Regions from separate parts of the Homo sapiens genome. Here region 2 is linked to region 1. Evidence: promoter capture Hi-C in 16 types of primary human blood cells and fetal thymus (Javierre and others, 2016). All regions are on one chromosome and are shown on one strand. Each heading gives the region's core, a stretch centred on a gene start or on the middle of the fragment in contact. The rest is flanking DNA. Distances are from core to core; before and after follow the strand shown.

The links. The method cuts DNA at HindIII sites, captures the fragments that hold promoters and counts their contacts. A CHiCAGO score of 5 or more calls a contact.
Region 2: a fragment that was not itself captured here is called in contact with the fragment with the promoter of CABP1 in region 1 in 2 of 17 cell types (M1 macrophages and endothelial precursors); the score reaches 8.0 in M1 macrophages.

Annotation. Positions count from the first base shown.
Region 1 is chr12:120,637,186-120,643,327 of GRCh38, forward strand. It overlaps CABP1 (calcium binding protein 1), which reads left to right and starts at 3,441. Exons shown (of 6, transcript NM_001033677.2): 1 at 3,441-4,154. The coding sequence starts at 3,501. It overlaps CABP1-DT (CABP1 divergent transcript), which reads right to left and starts at 3,337. Exons shown (of 2, transcript NR_183426.1): 1 at 2,865-3,337. RefSeq lists an enhancer at 1,328-1,829 and silencers at 3,301-3,600, 3,821-3,920, 3,931-4,100, 4,321-4,420. The HindIII fragment of the contact is 19,814 bases long and covers 1-6,142 here.
Region 2 is chr12:120,955,559-120,961,700 of GRCh38, forward strand. No RefSeq gene overlaps it. Among named protein-coding and RNA genes, the nearest start is that of HNF1A-AS1, 14 kb to the right of the region's middle. The HindIII fragment of the contact is 7,737 bases long and covers 1-6,142 here.

The DNA.
Region 1 (6,142 bases), core at 2,191-4,690:
GAGGAAACCCAAAGCCTTGACATTTTTGGCCCCTGCTTTCCTGCTTTCCTCTCCAGTTTCTGTTTTTTTTTTTTTTTTTTTTTTTGAGACGGAGTTTCGCTCTGTCACCCAGGCTGCTGGAGTGCAGTGGCGCGATCTCGGCTCACTGCAAGCTCTGCCCCCTGGGTTCACGCCATTCTCCTGCCTCAGCCTCCCGAGTATCTGGGACTACAGGTGCCCGCCACAACGCCCGGCTAATTTTTTTTTTTTTTTGTATATTTAGTGGAGACGGGGTTTCACCGTGTTAGCCGGGATGGTCTCGATCTCCTGACCTCGTGATCCACCCGCCTAGGCCTCCCAAAGTGCTGGGATTACAGGCTTGAGCCACCATGCCCGGCCTCCTCTCCAGTTTCATCTCTCCTACTTTCCCCCTCGCTCACTCCAGCCTCCTTTATCTCCGCTTCTCCTGGAACATGCCAAGCTATTCCCTCCTCAGGGCTTTTGAACAGCCTCCCTCTGCCAGGGAAGCTCTTCTCCCAGATATATACATGACTTCCTCCTTTACTTCATTTGAGTTTCTACTCAGATATTCCCTCTGCAGAGAGGCCTTCCCTAATCGCTCTCTAAAAGAGCACCCTAAGTTGGGCACAGTGGTTCATGCCTGTAATCCCAGCATTTTAGGAGGCCGAGGTGGGAAGATTGCTTGATGTCAGGAGTTTAAGACCAACCTGGCCAACATAGCAAGACCCTGTCTCTATGTAAAAATATTAAATAAATAAATAAAATAGCACCGCCCGTTAAACCCTAGTCTCTTACCTGCTTTATTTCTCCCCATGGCAGAAACACCACCAGTTTGTCACCATTACTTTTCCATGCGTTTATGTATTTGTTTATTTGTTGCTGAGGATAGAGACCATTTTGTTTGCTATCATATCCCTGGTACCTAGAACACTGCCTGGCAGATAACAGGCACTCAATTATTTGTTGAATGAATGGATCAATCTTTGTATCCAAGATGACTACTGCAGTGCCTGGTTGGATACATATTTGTCAAATAAGTGACCAAATTAATACACTTTACAAATGAAATGGAATCCTGGCATACATCCAGGATTATCTGGGATATGAGTGAAGGTGTTTCATCCATTTGCTTCATGGACATAATTTTTATTTATTTACTCTAGTAATCATAGGTAACATAATCAGATTCTTCAGTTTTTCAAAAACTAGTTGGTGACCGAGGTCTTGCCCAAAAATATTTAGGGCATTTCAGAAAGGTTACCAACAGTGGCACAGCAGGGATTTAGAATACCCAGCAGTCCTCTGCCTCTCATTGGCTCCTGAGGGTTTCTGATAAGGTTCTTTATCTCCTGTGATTTATATTGAATGTGCCTTTGTTTTTAATCCTGCCAAACACTGATTATTCTGAGGGCTGGAGCAGGTAAGACATTGACTGACCTCGAACTCAAAGGGTGGACTCATTACACCCTGCATATCCCAGAGGACCCTGCAATGAGCCTTCAGGGCTGCAACGCCCCAGGCTGCTTCAGGATTTGGGCTTTAGGAACCTGAGTGGCTTTGATATGGCAATTCAGTCCCTTAAGGGTAGCTGATCTGGGGAACAATTTGCCACACTTTCCTAGTTTACTTTAGCCTCTGGGCAGTTGCTTTCCCAGCCCATCCATTTTCCTTAATTCCTTGCCTATGGATAAGTAAAAGAGGCACACAGGGCCCAGCGCGGTGGCTCACGCCTGTAATCCCAGCATTTTGGGAGGCCAAGGCGGGCAGATCATGAGGTCAGGAGATCGAGACCATCCTGGCTAACATGGTGAGACCCCATCTCTACTAAAAATACAAAAAATTAGCTGGGTGTGGTGGCGGGTGCCTGTAATCCCAGCTACTCGGGAGGCTGAGGCAGGAGAATCGCTTGAACCTGGGGGGCAGAGGTTGCAGTGAGCCGAGATCGTGCCACTGCACTCCAGCCTGGTGACAGAGCAACACTCTGTAAAGAAGCAGACAGTGCAGAGAAGGATGAACTCTTGGCATGAGTGAAGTGTAATATCGGCAATCTGTTTGTGTACCCTTCTTTTTTTTTTTTTTTTTTTTTTTTTTTGAGACAGGGTCTCACTCTGTTGCCCAGGCTGGAGTGTAGTGACCCAATCTCGGCTCACTGCAACTTTCACTTCCCGGGTTCAAGTTATTCTCATGCCTACAAGTGGCTGGGATTACAGGCGCCCACCACCACGCCTGGCTAATTTTTGTATTTTTAGTAGAGACAGGGTTTCACCATGTTGGCCAGGCTGGTCTCGAACTCCTGACCTCAAGTGATCCGCCGGTCTTGGCCTCCCAAAGTGCTGGGATTACAGGTGCGAGCCACTGTGCCCGGCCTCGTGTATCCTTTTAATGAGGCCGAGCGGTGACAAGACTGTGGATGGCATTGGGGCCAGGGACCAGAACAGGGAGAGCCTGGGAGGAACCCCTCCAGCCCCCCGCAAAGCTCAAGCACCGGATACTAAAGAAGAATGGTAGATGGGGCCTCACGATGTGCAGGGGGAAGGGAACTGGCTTAACTGGATGGTCCCCTGTCCGAGCACTGGGCTAGGCCTTTTGTGTGCATAGTATCGTCTGCTGTTACCAAGAAATTAGTTATGCTTATCATCTGCATTTTACAGAAGAGGAGAACAAGGCTCAGAGAGGTTGATGACACCTGCCCAAGTTACCCAGATGGTAGGTGGCAGAGCTGGGATTTGAGATTCAGATAAGGCCTGGGACGCTCCCTGGCTGCCCACCGAGAGCAGGAATTTCTGTAGCATCTAGAAAGGCAGGAAGGTGAAAGAGGGGACAAGAGCTGGAGGGGGAGCAAATGGGTCCTACCTGAGACTTACCATCATCAGGTGCTGCCAGACCTGGCTTCTCTTCTATTCTGAGAACTGATATCCTGTGGCTGACTTACCAGGGTCGTCCTAGTCCCCCCGCACGGTATTGGGAGTGGAGGCAGCCCCACACGGAGGCGCTGGGAGACTTTCCTCCCAGCAGTGTCCTGTCACTGCATTCCGGCCCCTGCGTTTGTAGGCAGTGATGTCACAGAGTGCCTTCATGCTCCTCGGGTCTCCGGTTCTCCCCGGACCTCTGTAGTCCTCATTGCCAAAGTTGTACCCCCTGGGGAGTGCACCCTGCCTGCATTTCTGGAGGTTCGGGCGGTTCCGGGGCTCTGCAGGAGCCTCCAGGCGTGATAAAGAGCGCTGCCGGCACTCCCGGGGTCTCGGCCTCTTTGGGGCCCATTGCCAAGCCCCTTCCCTCCTCGTGCTCCCGCTCCGCGTTGCAGCGTCCCCTTCGCCGCCAGGGGCCGCCCGGAAGCGGGGCTCCCCCAGGGCGGGGCGGGGCAAGGGGCGGGGCGCGGCGGTACCTGGGCCGCCAGGGAGCCGGGGGTGGGCTCTCCGGGGACAGCCGGCAGCGCCCCCAGATCTGCACCGCCAGCCGCCGGGAGCTCCGGGCTCCGGGCGTAGAGGCTGCGCTGTCACATGGGCGGCGGCGACGGGGCCGCATTTAAGCGGCCGGGGGACGGCGCCCGCCTCCAGCGCGTCCTCGGGCTTGGCTCCCGCCGGGAGCCCCGTTCTCTGCCCGCCGGGGGCCCCGCGCCGCGCCGCACCGCGCCGCCCCCGCCGGGCCATGCGAGCGCGGGCCCCGCCGCGATGAGCTCGCACATCGCCAAAAGCGAGTCCAAGACGTCGCTGCTGAAGGCGGCGGCGGCGGCGGCGAGCGGGGGCAGCCGGGCTCCCCGCCACGGCCCTGCCCGGGACCCGGGGCTGCCTAGCCGCCGGCTACCCGGCTCCTGCCCGGCGACGCCGCAGTCGTCCGGGGACCCCAGTTCGCGGAGGCCCCTGTGCCGGCCGGCGCCGCGAGAGGAGGGCGCGCGGGGGAGCCAGCGTGTGCTCCCCCAGGCGCACTGCAGGCCCCGGGAGGCGCTGCCGGCCGCGGCGTCCCGACCTTCGCCGTCGTCGCCGCTGCCGCCGGCCCGCGGGCGGGATGGGGAGGAACGGGGACTGTCCCCGGCGCTCGGCCTCCGGGGCTCTCTGCGAGCCCGGGGCCGCGGGGACTCCGTTCCAGCCGCCGCGTCCGAGGCGGACCCGTTCCTCCACCGGCTGCGCCCCATGCTCAGCTCCGCCTTTGGCCAGGTAAGGGCCGCGCCTCCCGTCAGCGCTCCCGGGAAAGGCGCTCGGGACCCTGCCGGCCGCGGTTGCGCGTCCACAGCCTCCTCCCGCGGCCCGTGGTCCCCCACGGATCACGCCTCGGCTCACCTCGTCCTCCCCGGGCCGGCGCCCTTGCCGGCACTCCTCCTCCCCGTGCCTGATTCAGCACCCCGTGCGCTGTCCACGCTCCGGGCCTCTTGGGGCAAGGCCCTCCCCGCTAGCCTCCCTCATACCCGCCAGAACCCGCCAGTCCTGGAAGAGAGCGACCTCTACGACCGTCCTGGAGATTTGCGGGGGTCAAGGAGGGGCGCTCCGAGCAGGTGGCGCCAAACCCACTCCTCTGGCCTCTGGCCAGTACCGCCAGGGAGGGACTCAGGAGAGCAAGCGGTTTGGAGTCTGGGGGTCAAGAGAGGGGACCTCAGAGAACACAGAATTACTTGAGGGCGAGGGACACTGGCCACTGCCTATCATGTCCCTGAAGGCCTGAGAAAAGTTAGGAGATCCAAAAATATGAGGAAAGAGAAGAGGTGTCTGGGTAGGCATGGAGGGGCATGCAGAGCTGTGGCTCAAACTGGAACTTTGGGGTGGTTTAAGGAGGCTGTCACTCTAGGGATGCCATTGGAAGGGTGAGAAAGGCCACAAAGAGGTCATCAGTGGTTCCCTCAGGCCTTTCCCTCAAGAGTCCCAGGCACCTGGGAGCCTGCCCTTTAAAAGCAGCTCCGTAGTCACAATATAGGTCTACAGTTTGAGGCTGTGCTGCTGGGGAAACAGGCTCAGTAGAAGGAAACCTCTGAACTCCTGAGCAAAAAAGCCAGGGTTTCCCCTAGTTCGGAGTCTGTAATCAAGTCAAACTCATTGGCACAGCTTTGAGACAGTTCTGTGGCAGCCTCCGAGAGGTGTCATGCAGAGGTCTGATTAGAGCGTTTGCGTGGTTTGTAGGGAAACAGGGGGGGCTGTGCCTTTCTGTGCTGAGATCTAGCATAAAGAAGCTGTTTCAAGCTCCTGGCTTGCCACGCCGGATCAGAATTCCAAGGAGGCCCTGTGTGTTTTGCTTCAGATCTGCACATTTCTTTTCAAAATACTACTCGGCAGTGGCTGATGCTGGTGGAGGTCTGACATGAAGGCAGCCGCACATGGATTTGGGTTGCGTGGTGCTGCTGTGGTGGGGCCATAGGGCAGTGGTGTGTGGCTTTGTTCCTGCAGGGAGCCCTCGTTAGCCGAGTTAGCTGGAAACAGTTCTCTGGAGTAGAGATGTGGATGCAGAGCCGTGAGAGTTAGTGAGGCGATGTGTCAGGGGAGTTCACTGCAGTGCTTTGTGTTAATGAGGAGGTGTAGGCTGCCAGGGCACGAGTGGTCTTTGGATTGGGGCTGGGTTGCAGCAGGAATGCTGGGTTGTTGAATGGGTGATACCAATTCATTCATTTATCAATTATTTCTTGAGCATTTATTAAGGAAACCTTCAGGGGTTTCCTTAGTTCCTGTGGTTTGTTTGTTCAGACATTTGCTAGACACCAGGAAGACAACAGTGAACCAGATAGCCAGGGCCCTGGCTGTACCTAGCAGTTTGGAAGGGTAGGTCATTGGCCTAGAATCATACACTTTCTGGTTACTCAGTTTGCAGCTGATCTGACTCAGCTCCTGAAAAAAAAAAAAAAAAAGAGTCCTTTCTTTCCTGTCTTGCAGAATTTGCCTACATGAGCCCTTTCTGAGCTCCGAGCATTGTAGCGACGTGCTTTTGTTTCTCCTTCTAATTTCTCAGTCATTAAGTGAATTCTCCGGCCCAATGTTCTGAAATGTCACCAGGGTCACCTGAGTCAGGAGGAGCTGGAAGTTCCCATCAAATATTTACTACCTCCCTGTGGAAGCTCTTGCCTCTCAGCTGCGGGCTTTTACTTTAAAGCCCAGCACATTCAGTTTGGGCTTCCATCTGACACCTCGAAGTCATCTACGTGAGCAACAACAGCAAACCCAGG
Region 2 (6,142 bases), core at 2,204-4,703, 320 kb after region 1:
TGTAGACTGAGAAAACCTAGACTCCTAATAACATATACCATCAAGCCCACCCAACTTTGGGATTTTTTTTTTTTTTTAATTCTGGGGAAACTTTTATTTTTATTTCTAGACCAATTGACTATGGGATAGGAAAGAAAGTGAGGTGTCAAGGATAAAGCCAATATTTGACTCAAACAATGTAGAGGATGTTTGTTTTTAGCTTACTTGAGGAAGGCTGTGGTCGGGGAGAAGATTGAGAATTCTTTTTTTTTTTTGAGACAGGGTCTCACTCTGTTGCCCAGGCTGGAGTGCAGTGGTGCCATCCTAGCTCACTGCAGCCTCGACCTCCCAAACTCAAACAATCCTCCCACTTCAGCCTCCTGAGTAGCCAGGATTATAGGCAGATGCCACCATGCCTGGCTAATTTTTTCATTTCCAGTAGAAATGAGATCTCACTATGTTGCCTGGGCTAGTCTCAAATTGGGCTCAAATGATCCTCCCACCTTAGCCTCCCAAAGTGCTGGGATTATAGGCGTGAGCCACTGCACCTGGCCAAAGATTAATTCTGATCAATGCTAAGGACTTTCCACTCTTTACAACTTTAACTTTGTTTTGGTTGTTTCAAGAGCTACATTTGATTCGATTCGTTTTGTTTTGAGATGGAGTCTCACTCTGTCGCCCAGGCTGGAGTGCAGCGGTGCAATCCCACTGCAACCTCTGACCCCCGAGTTCAAGGGATTCTCCTGCCTCAGCCTCCTGAGTAGCTGGGACTACAGGCACCCACCACCACGCCTGGCTAATTTTTGTATTTTTAGTAGAGATGGGGTTTCACCATGTTCGCCAGGCTGGTCTCAAACTCCTGAACTCAGGTGATCTGTCCACCTCGGCCTCCCAAAGTGCTAGGATTACAGGCATGTGCCACCGCACCTGGCCTAAGAGCTACATTTTTTATCGCAGTCTCAGCCTTTTCATTTCCCCATATCCCACTCATTCCTATAAGGGCCAAATGCAATAAAACAGATGTGTATGTGCACTCACGCTGTGGAGTGAAGATGCAAATGACTGTGATGATCCAAACCCTGGCAGGAAGGTGGCAGCCCCGTAGGGCATGGGGATCAGAGGTAACTCCACTGTGTGTGCCTTCCGCTGTGTGTGCCCTCCACTGTGTGTGCCCTCCGCTGTGTGTGCCCTCCACTGTGTGTGCCCTCCACTGTGTCTGTCCTCCGCTGTGTGTGCCCTCCACTGTGTGTGCCCTCTGCTCCGCTGTGTCCACAGTGACAGCATAGATTATCCCAGGGCTCAATCAGTTGTTCCAGCTAACTTCCTGCTAAACAGAGCTGGTCACCAGGAGCCAGGCTGACACCTTTGAACCCCTTCTTCCCCTCTGCCTCCTTTCTCAGAAAATATAAAGTGCAAAATGGTCCAGAGGTGGACAGTGTGGGGAGGGAGGGGACATTGAGTCTTGATGACCTGCAAATTTACACCAGTTTCTGCATAATCCTATATGGGCTTTATCTGATCTTAGAGGCACCCATCCCTTTGCAATAAAAGATTGCATCTGTTTTTATTTCCCCTTTCTGTTGGAAGCTGATAAGCCAAGAATGTACTCTCCCCACCTGCTCTCAGCTTTGATTCCCATTAACACAGGGGCATTCCCAGGAAAGGGTTGGGCTCCCCAAGGTGTTTGCTGGAGAACCTGCTGTCACTCTGCAGAGATGTACAAGTATTTACTGAAAGAAGAACTTCTCCAGGAATATTGTGTAAGCAGATTACACCGGATCTCCCTGCCCTTGGACAAATATATATGGTGAAGCTCAAAGAGGGGAATCCAATGCACAGAAACCTCCATGCTTAAAAAATATCTTGTGGCCGGGCACGGTGGCTCACGCCTGTAATGCCAGCACTTTGGGAGGCTGAGATGGGAGGATCACTTGAGCCCAGGAGTTCGAAACCAGCCTGGGCAACATAGGGAGACCCCCATCTCTACAAAAAATGAAAAAAGTTAGCCAGGCATGGTGGTGCACACCTGTAGTCCCAGCTACTAGGGAGGCTGAGGTGGGAGGATCACTTGAGCCTGGGAGTTTGAGGCTGCAGTGAGATATGATCATGTCACTGCACTCCTGCCCGGGCGACAGAGTGAGACTCTGTCTCAAAAAACAAACAAAAAACCAAACCAAAACAAAACAGAACTTGTGAATTGGTTTGGGGATTGCTGGTAAGAGACAAAGGGATGATCATCAAGTCTGGGGATGCCCATCCATTGCCACATCCCCAAGGGGATCACACCAGCTGGAGCACATCACTGCACGTCGCATTTTTGTTTTGTTTTGTTTTGAGACGGAGTCTCACTCTGTCTCCCAGGCTGGAGTGCAGTGGCGCCATCTCAGCTCATTGCAACCTCCACCTCCCGGGTTCAAGCAATTCTCCTGTCTCAGTCTCCCGAGTAGCTGGGATTACAGGCATGCGCCACCACACCCTGCTAAATTTTTTTGGAATTTTTAGTAGAGACAGAGTTTCACCATATTGGCCAGGCTGGTCTTGAACTCCTGGCCTCAGGTGATCCTCCCACCTCAGCCTCCCAACGTGCTGGGATTACAGGCGTGAGCACTGCACCCGGCCCTTTTTTTTTTTTTTGAGATGGAGTCTCACGCTGTTGCCCAGGCTGGAGTGCACTGGTGTGATCTCGGCTCACTGCAACCTCTGCCTCCTGGGTTCAAGTGATTCTCCTGCCTCAGCCTCCTGAGTAGCTAGGATTACAGGCACATGCCACCACGCCTGGCTACTTTTTGCATTTTGAGGCAGGGTTTCACCATGTTGGCCAGGCTGGTCTTGAACTCCTGACCTTAAGGCCCGCCTCAGCCTCCCAAAGTGCTGGGATTACAGGCGTGAGCCACCGCGCCCCGCCTTGCACATTGCATTTCTAGAGACTAGAGGCCTCAAATTAAGGTGTCGGTAAGGCTTGGCCCCCTCTCAAACTTGGGGGAGAGGGGAGATTCCACTCTTGCCCTTTCCAACGTCTCACGTCTCTGGTAATCCTTGGCAATCTTTGGCTTGCTGCTGCAGCACTCCACGGTGTACCTCTATTGTCCTAAGGTGTTCTCTGTGTGTGTGTCCAACTTTGGATTTTTGTTTTTATTAATTTTCTTTTCTTTTTTTCTTTTTTTTTTTTTTGACGAAGTTTCACTCTTGTTGCCCAGGCTGGAGTACAATGGCATGATCTCGGCTCACCACAACCTCCACCTCCCGGGTTCAAGCAATTCTCCTGCCTCAGCCTCCCAAGTAGCTGGGATTACAGGCATGTGCCATCATGCCCAGCTACTTTTTTTGTATTTTTAGCAGAGACAGGGTTTCTCCATGTTGATCAGGCTGTTCTTGAACTCCCGATCTCAGGTGATCCACCTGTCTCGGCCTCCCAAAGTGCTGGGCTTACAGGTGTGAGCCACCGGGCCCGCTGTTTTCATTAATTTTCATTTGAAGACATCCTGATACCTAGTCAAAGCCTCATGACTTTGGGGGCTGAGAGGACAGGGTGGTGGTGGATGTATAGTTGGCGGGGTGTGGTGGTGCACACCTGTAGTCCCAGCTACAGGAGGATTGCTTGAGCCCAGGAGGTCGAGGCTGCAGCAAGCCATGAGTGTGTCACTGTACTCCAGCCTGGGCGACAGAATGAAACCCTGTCTCTTAAAAAAAAAAAAAGAAAAAAAAAGGATGTACAGTAGGAGGATTATCTTTGCCTTCAGTTGCTGGGAGGTGATCTCTAGGCCCCTTAACGTCCTGTCTGATGGAAGTGTCTGTGTTTGCCTGGGGCCTTTGGCCACCAGATAGTCTAACAATGTGATCTGTAATGAAGGCTTTGGAACATCCTGTATCAGTTCCAACCTCCAGATGAGCTGGATACACAAGAGTTAGCTCAGGAGAGACTGGAGATGAAAGGTCAGCCACACTGGCAGTAAGGGATCAAGCCCCACTAAAAAACGCTGGACACTGGCTGGCAGTGGCTCATGCCTGTAATCCCAGCACTTCAGGAGGCTGAGGGGGGCGGGTCACCAGATGTCAGGAGTTTGAGATCAGCCTGGCCAACATGGTGAAACCCTGTCTCTACTAAAAATACAAAATCAGCTGGGCATGGTGCATGCCTGTAATCCCAGCTACTCGTACTCTGGAGGCTGAGGCGGGAGAATCGCTTGAACCCAGGAGGTGGAGGTTGCAGTGAACTGAGATCACGCAACAGCACTCCAGCCTGGGCGACGAGAGCGAGACTCCATCTCAGAAACAACAACAACAAAAACAAAACCCCCAAAAACGCTGGACACCAAAGCCTCAGGAGCTTCTCTGGTTAGCAGTATTCTCTGAGTGTCATCACGCATCATAGCTGGGGGGAGGTGACTGTCTGGAGAGAAGGTAACTAGGAGCTTTGCACTTGAACCCCTTCCGCACCTCACCCTCTATGTCCTTTCTTGTGGCTGGTTCTGATCTGTGTCTGTTTGCTATCATAAAAACTGTCGTTATGAGGCGGGGCACTTTCCTGAGTTCCATGAGTCATTCTAGTGAATTATTGAACCACAGGGGGTAGTGGGAACCCTCAATGCAGCCAAGCGGTCAGAAGTGAGGGTGGCCCAGGAATCCCCAGTTGCACCTGGCATTTGAAGTGAAGGCTGCCTTGTGGAGGGACTGTGTCCTTAGCCTTGAGCTTGACAAATTCATTGCAGTAGGTTCTGTCATCTGCCTCTTAGAGAATACCCTCATTTCAACTGGGCGCGGTGGCTCACGCCTGTAATCCCAGCACTTTGGGAGGCCGAGGCGGGCGGATCACGAGGTCAGGAGATCGAGACCATCCTGGCTAACACGGTGAAACCCCGTCTCTACTAAAAATGCAAAAAATTAGCTGGGCGTGGTGGCGGGCGCCTGTAGTCCCAGCTACTCAGGAGGCTGAGGCAGGAGAATGGCGTGAACCCGGGAGGTGGAGCTTGCAGTGAGCCGAGATCGCGCCACTGCACTCCAGCCTGGGCGATAGAGCGAGACTCCATCTCAGAAAAAAAAAAAAAAAAGAGAATACCCTCATTTCCTTGCAATTTGGGACAGGTGTTAGGAGCCTCATTTTATTCTTCTGAAATCAAATTATCCCTGATTCAGACTTCAGGTAAGGTGGCATTCAAATGCAGTCGTGACTCAGGGCTTACTATTTCTATTCTTCTAAAAAGACTATGGGATTCTCATGTAGGTGGAAATGCTTGAGTGGGCGCCTCTGGCCTTTGGTCTACACGCACTAGCCTGATACACGTCTCCTCCACCAGGCTGTAAACCTCGTGAAGTATCGGTTTTATTCCTGACTAGAACAAGGCTTAGCACCTAGTGGGTGCTCATTAAACACATGAAGCATGAATCAGTGAGGGATTTCACATCTCGTCATCTCTGAAAAGCCTGTTAGCTCACTTCTAGGACCAGGAAACTGGCATTATCAAGAGTGTTATTCCAGCTTTGGTTGGTTCTGAAAATAATAATAATGTATCAGTCCAGTATTAGGTTTAGCTGTATAGAACAGAAAACCCAAAGTGAAATGGCATAAACATGTAAGAGTTGATTCCTTCCAGAAGCAGGCAGTCTAGGACTGGTGTGGGCCTCCCCTGAAGGCTGGCAAGACCACTATTTCTGTGCCAACCTTTGGCGCAGGGGTCTTTATTCAGATTGGCTACTCCATACCCAGGATCCAGCCTCCCCAAGTTTTGCCTAGGTCACCAATCCTCAGGATCCCCCAAATCATATCTCCAGTCTTGGGGCATCTCCAACGTCCCATGAATCATCACCCATCTCTGTAAAAATAAAAAAGTCCCAGGCTGGGTGCGGTGGCTCATGCCTGTAATCCCAGCACTTTGGGAGGCTGGGACAGGTGGATCACCTGAGGTCAGGAGTTGGAGAACAGCTTAGCCAACATGGCAAAACCTTGTCTTTATTAAAAATACAAAAATTAGCCGGGTGTGGTGGCAGGCGCCTGTAATCCTAACTACTCGGGAGGCTGAGGCAGGAGAATAGCTTGAACCTGGGAGGTGGACGTTGCAGTGAGCTGAGATCACGCCACTGCACTCCAGCCAGGGCGACAGAGCGAGACTCCGTCTCAAAAAAATAAAAGTAAAAAAATTTTTAAAAAGTCCTAGAGTACACAGTT